2 separate regions of the Homo sapiens genome follow, and region 2 is linked to region 1. The links are contacts of gene promoters, found by promoter capture Hi-C in blood cells and fetal thymus (Javierre and others, 2016). All regions are on one chromosome and are shown on one strand. The core of a region is centred on a gene start or on the middle of the fragment in contact, and the rest is flanking DNA. Distances in the headings are between cores, read along the strand shown.

Region 1 (2,928 bases), core at 297-2,796:
GTCGCCAAGGCTGGAGTGCGGTGGCACAATCACGGCTCACTGCAACCTCTGCCTCCCGGGTTTGAGTGAGTCTCCTGCCTCAGCCTCCCGAGTAGTTGGGATTACAGGCATGTGCCACCATGCCCAGCTAATATTTGTATTTTTAGTACAGATGGGGTTTTGCCATGTTGCCCAGACTGGTCTCGAACTCCCAGTCTCAAGGCATACACCCACCTTGGCCTCCCAAAGTGCTGGGATTATAGGCGTGAGCCACCACGCCTGGCCCAGTCTGTGGCATTTGTTATGACAGCCCAAGCAAAGCAACACACACCTTCCCAGCCTTCATTTCTCATTGGCATGATGCCTCCTCTTGGCCTGCTGCTGATTCCATCCTAATGCCAGACCAACAAGGCTCTGCTCACCCAGCTCTGAGCCTTACCCCAGTGCTGGCTTTGCTCTGCTCTTCCTGATCCTCTGATCTCCTTCTAGTCCTGCCCCAGGGCAACTCCACATCTGGCTATTCCTGGCTCTTACTCTTCTTTTTACCTCAACCCAGACCAGCAGCTCACCAAGCCACCAAGACTCATGGTTCCTCCTGTATGCAGCCCTTGTCTGACAGGCCACGTGGTATTGATCACTTGTGGGGTCAGAGAAAGTGGGAGGAAGTTTGAAGCATTTTAGAGGATGGCAAGAGACGGAGGCCCTTCTCCTTTTTCTCTCATTATCCCCTCCAAGAACTTCCCACAGGTTGATAAATATTGCTATGGTCCAAAACAGAAGGTGCAATTTGGCTCTATTCTCAGATTTTCCTCCTATGGGTTAGTAAAACAGATGGAAGGCTGTCCAAGTCCAAGAGAGAGCCAGACTCATTCAGAGTGATCTTTTCAATGCTCGAAAACCTGGCACAGCGCTGTCTTTACTAATTCTCACCCTGAGAGGAGACCAAAGGACTCATTGGGATAGAGGCCATGTGAGAGTGGGGATGTTAAACCAACAGCTCCCCTAGGTTGAGGCAGGTTTAGGGGTCTGCTTTGTGCACACAGACCCTATTAATATCTTATGACCCACTTGGGATTATTTGGGTGGAATTGTTTGAAGAGGAGAAAAATTCTCTTTGCTTCCTATTAAGATGCCACCAGATGATCCCCTGGCAGAGTTCTTTGGCTCCTTTCTCACAATAATGAAAAAATTATATATACACCTTATTTCCTTTTTAAAGACACTAGATATTGGGATGCCAAGGCTCAGATTGGACTGCGTGCTAAATCTCAAAATTTTCAGACAGTTTAATCTGCATAAAGACAAACAGTTTGGACTCACCTCAATGCACATCTGATCCCAGGAGGTGATGACTTTACAGCCGGCAGAAAACAGCACCACCCAAAAGAAGCAGCTGACGTCAAACGCCATCACAGGCTAGGATTGCTTGGTGGGTTTACCTAATGCTTGGAGCTGAGAAATGGAATCAAACTGTGAAGGCCCTGGCAATTTGGCAGCCAGAGAGGTACTCAGAAGGGTGATCTTGGAACAAGAAATGCTGTTGACTGCTCAGCATTCTGTGGCTCTGTGCTGGAAAAAAAAAAAAAAAAAAAAAAGGAAGTCCCTTTTGCATACCACCCATCTTTGCCAAAAATAACTGAGGACCCAACCCCAGAATGGCCCGTTGCATTTCCTGGCACTGAACATGAATCAGTTGTGCAGTCCTTTTGGGCTGATCACACAGACTCTCATTGTGATGGTTCCAATTGACTTTATGCCAACTTCAAGCATTTGGCCAACTCCAACAGCTTCTGGTCCTTTTCCCCGAGAGAGGCTGTGGAAGCTCTACTCACCAAGGAGGCCACTTTCTTAGTTGTCCTAGGTGAGTGAATAGAAGAGGTGTCAGAGAACATGGAAGGGCAGAGCACTCTGCAGGGGCAGACTGAAGAACTGAGCCCTTCAGTGGCACCTGCTGAGCTGGGAACTGGAGCAGGAGGGAGCAGGCTTGAGAGTGTATCTGCTCCTTGAGCCTCAGCTGCTGCCTTGGCCACCTTGTCCATCCCCACCTCTGGTCTTCGTATAGGGGGAAGATTACTTCATCTCTTGACCTGGCGGTTCAGGCTTGTTAAAGCAGTTGGGGTGGACTCTCTTGTTCCCTCCTAACCTGGCCTGGGGAAGTAGGGGACACTGCCATAGATAGAGCAGCCTGGCTAAAGGAGAGTAGAGTTAGGGATGCCAGCCTTGGCTCTATTTCTTCTTAGAAATAGCTTTGAAGCAGGATTACAATTACCCTTATTATGGAGCAAGATGTGGCAATGATTAAAGAAAGCCAAAGTTCAAACATTCCTCAATAGGCTGCATTTAGCTACCTGTTCTGTCTGTTCTTCAACCCTCTGGCATACAGGATATATTTGGTGTTACTGTTCTCCCACTCCATTTCCAAGAGCCCAGTTCTTAGTATCAGAGTTCACAATGACTTAACTACTGCTACTACTACTACTACCACCACCACCACCACCACCACCTCTACAGTATTACTATGATGAATCAAATGACTATAGTATCTGCCATTTATTGAGTCCTTACTATGTGTCAGACACTGGGTCAGGTTTAATGCAGTTTTTTGCTGCATTTTCCTATCCTCGAATATTTCCATATATTCTATAAGAGAGATATTATTATTTCCCTCATTTTATAGATGTAGAAACTGATGCTTAAGAGAAATTAAATGATCTCTCCAAGCCACACAATTAGAGAGTGGTAGATTAGGGCTTCAGATCCAGAAAATCTCACTGCAGAGACTATGCTGCTACTCTTCACAGTTTAAGAAAGGACTTTGCCTCCTGAAGGAGCTGAAGAGTAGATGGGGCGAAGAATGTTGTTCATCTGGAGATTTCAGAAAAGATGCTAAAAAGCAGAGGGGATTGGAGGAAATATGTACTTGGCAGTCTGCTAGGCCTGCTACACATA
Region 2 (2,928 bases), core at 319-2,818, 890 kb before region 1:
CTGGACACAGTCATAGCACCACCTATAGATGCAGAGGGGAGACGCCCAAGTGGAGCCCATGCTTCATGATGCCCCCCATCATGTAGCCACACGCCTGCCATCTCCTCCTTCATGGTGTCTGCGCCTCCCTTCTGATGAGGTGGATCTGGACCCAAATGCTGGGGCTTGGGGGATGTGGGAGGCTGGCCAAGGAGTGTTTTATTTCTGCAAGGTGTTTCCCTTACTGCTTAGAGGTGAAATAAGCAGGGAAGATATCATGCTTGCATTTTATAGCCCTTGCTGTTGACCACTGGAAGAGATTTTGGGTTTGAATGAAATATTCACAATCACCTACACATTGGCTTTAGTATTCATCTCCATAGATATAATCCTTTAAAAACACAACTTAAATTCCTTGGCTTGAATTCCTAAGCTTCTGTACAGAAATCAGGAAGAGAGAATTTTCTTTGGTTGGAACTCATTGCTGATTAGGGACATGGTATTTGTGTAAGGGTGGGGAGGAGTGGGATTCTTCCATGGAGGCAGGTTCTGGAACCCTCAAAGCAGCACATTCGCAAGCCCGACGTATAATTTGGAGCTTCCATGTATGCTCTTGACATCTTTCCAAACGAGGTCTGGTAAACTTCTCCAGGATGTTCTTCCTTATTCCTTGAAAGGTGGTTGATATAGTTTGGCTGCCTCTTCACCCAAATCTCATCTTTAATTTTAATGCTCATAATCCTTATGTGTCGAATGAGGGAACTAGTGGCAGGTGATTAGATCATGGGGGCAGTTCCCCCATGCTGTTCTCCTGATAGTGAGTGAGTTCTCATGAGATCTGACGGCGTTATAAGGCAGTTTTCCCTGCTCTTGCTTGCTCTCTCTCAACTTCCGCCACGTAAGACGTGCCTACTTCACCTTCTGCCATGATTGTAAGTTTCCTGAGGTCTCCCCAGCCACGCAGAACTCTGAGTCAATTAAACCTCCTTTCTTTATAAATTACCCAGTCTCAGGTATGTCTTTAAAGCAGTGTGAACAAGACTAATACAGTGGTCTCAGGAAGATGAGGAGAAAAGACAGGAACTCTGTTAGCATAGTAATACTTTGTGCTTTTGTGGCAAGCATGGTAAATAGTAACAAGAGGAACATTTATTTGATTTGTTTGCTGGGGAGGCTCAAAAGAACCAACTAGTCCCTCTGGCTTCATTGAGGGGGTCCACTCGGGAGGCATCAGGAGATTGGTTAAAAACACTGAGGGGGCTGGGCACGGTGGCTTACACCTGTAATCCCAGCACTTTGGGAGGCCGAGGTGGGTAGATCACCTGTGGTCAGGAGTTCATGACCAGCCTGGGCAGCACGGCAAAACTCTGTCTCTACAAAAATGTTAAAATTAGCCTGGCATGGTGGCGCATGCCTGTAGTCCCAGCTACTCCAGAGGCTGAGGCATGAGAATCGCTTGAACTCTGGAGGTGGAGGTTGCAATGAGCTGAGATCTCACCACTGCACTCCAGCCTGGGTGACACAGAGAGACTCCATCTCAAACAAACAAACAAACAAACAAGCAAAAAACATAAAAAGGTGGGGGGTTGGGTAATGGGGAGAAAATGGAAGGAAGAACAAAGCAAATGTAAGGAAGAAAGATGTGGCCTGTGTGTGAACTGGCAGGCAAGGCAAGGGGAAAAGGGACAAACTCCTGTGAGTTGTCCTTTGACTCCATGTGAATGTGAGACCACCAAACAGTAAGTGATGGACTGTGGTATCTTGCCCTTGCAGGGGTTATCTGTATAATCTGACTCTTGCCTCCTTATACTTCTCTGAGCTCCTCTATTGGATTATAGGAGTTTCTTGAACAAATACATGAAATAATCTTGAACATTACACACCTTTGTTATTCTCAAAGGCATCATGTGTTCCATATGACCTTGACCTTGGTGGCAGGGGCAGAAAAGCTCCACACTCAGCCTTCCATGCTCTCTTCTCTTCCCTGGGGGCTTGAAATCTGCAAACCACCCTCCCTTCCTGTTAGGTCTGCCAGTGCTCCCACAGTGGAGGGCATTCACTGGGAGCAGGTGGGGAGACTTAGGGAGGCCGCTGGCAGCAGTGAGTGGCTAAGGGCGGCCGTGGGCAACTGCATCATGGCGGCTTTGGTGGCACCAGCGGGCCTGTAGGCTCCTTGGTTCCCCATGGGCAGCAGCAGTGCCTTCTCCAGCAGGAGCGCCACGTGCAAGTTCTTGTCCACAGGCAGCAGCCGCTTGCAGACGGTTGGGTAACCCCCTTCGCCTTGGTGCTCCTATGCCCAAACCAAATCTTTTCTTTCTCGTATGTTCTTCCAGGCCTTCTACCACTTCTATAACTAAGCGTCTGTTTACATCCTTTTCTCATCAAAATATCCCCAGGGGTTTCATTTTCCTGAGCGAACACCGAACACCGACCCAGCCAGCAATCTTGCCCAAGTCTAAGATCATTCCCAAAGGGGGCCCAGACTTGCCTGTTTGTGTTCTCTTAGCTTTCAGGTTCAGTGTGACAGCTTTGTGGAGCCTCGCACCTATGGTTAAGAATTGTTAACATCATTGTCTTTTTTTTTTTTTAAAGGCAACCAACCAGGGGACTGATGGACATATCAATATACTGTAGTGACTAAAGCTAGGGAAGAAATTATAGGACAATGTACAGTGATAGAAATTTGAAGCTGAACTCCTCTTGACAGCCTCTGCCCTTCTACTCATCAGGATGTTAGCTGTTACACAAGCTTTGTCAAAAGGTGACAGAATTGTCAGTCAATGTTATGTGATGAACTTGGGCTGACACTGGTTGCTCTACTGATTTTTCTTAAGCTATACCACAGCAGGTCCTCAGATAATGTCATTTCATTCAGCATCATTTTGTTATAACATTGATGAGAAAAAAAATTGCTTCCCAGCTGGGGCCATTGTCTATGTGGAGTTTGCA

The links. Contacts are between HindIII fragments. The CHiCAGO score rates a contact against its expected background, and 5 or more counts as called.
Region 2: a contact is called between a fragment that was not itself captured here and the fragment with the promoter of CD180 in region 1, in 1 of 17 cell types (megakaryocytes). The highest score is 5.2, in megakaryocytes.

Annotation. Positions count from the first base shown.
Region 1 is chr5:67,195,253-67,198,180 of GRCh38, forward strand. It overlaps CD180 (CD180 molecule), which reads right to left and starts at 1,547. Exons shown (of 3, transcript NM_005582.3): 1 at 1,300-1,547. The coding sequence starts at 1,389. RefSeq lists an enhancer at 371-520. The HindIII fragment of the contact is 10,485 bases long and covers 1-2,928 here.
Region 2 is chr5:66,300,393-66,303,320 of GRCh38, forward strand. All of the region lies in intron 1 of LOC124900988 (a long non-coding RNA gene), which reads left to right. Among named protein-coding and RNA genes, the nearest start is that of LINC02065, 92 kb to the left of the region's middle. The HindIII fragment of the contact is 2,316 bases long and covers 411-2,726 here.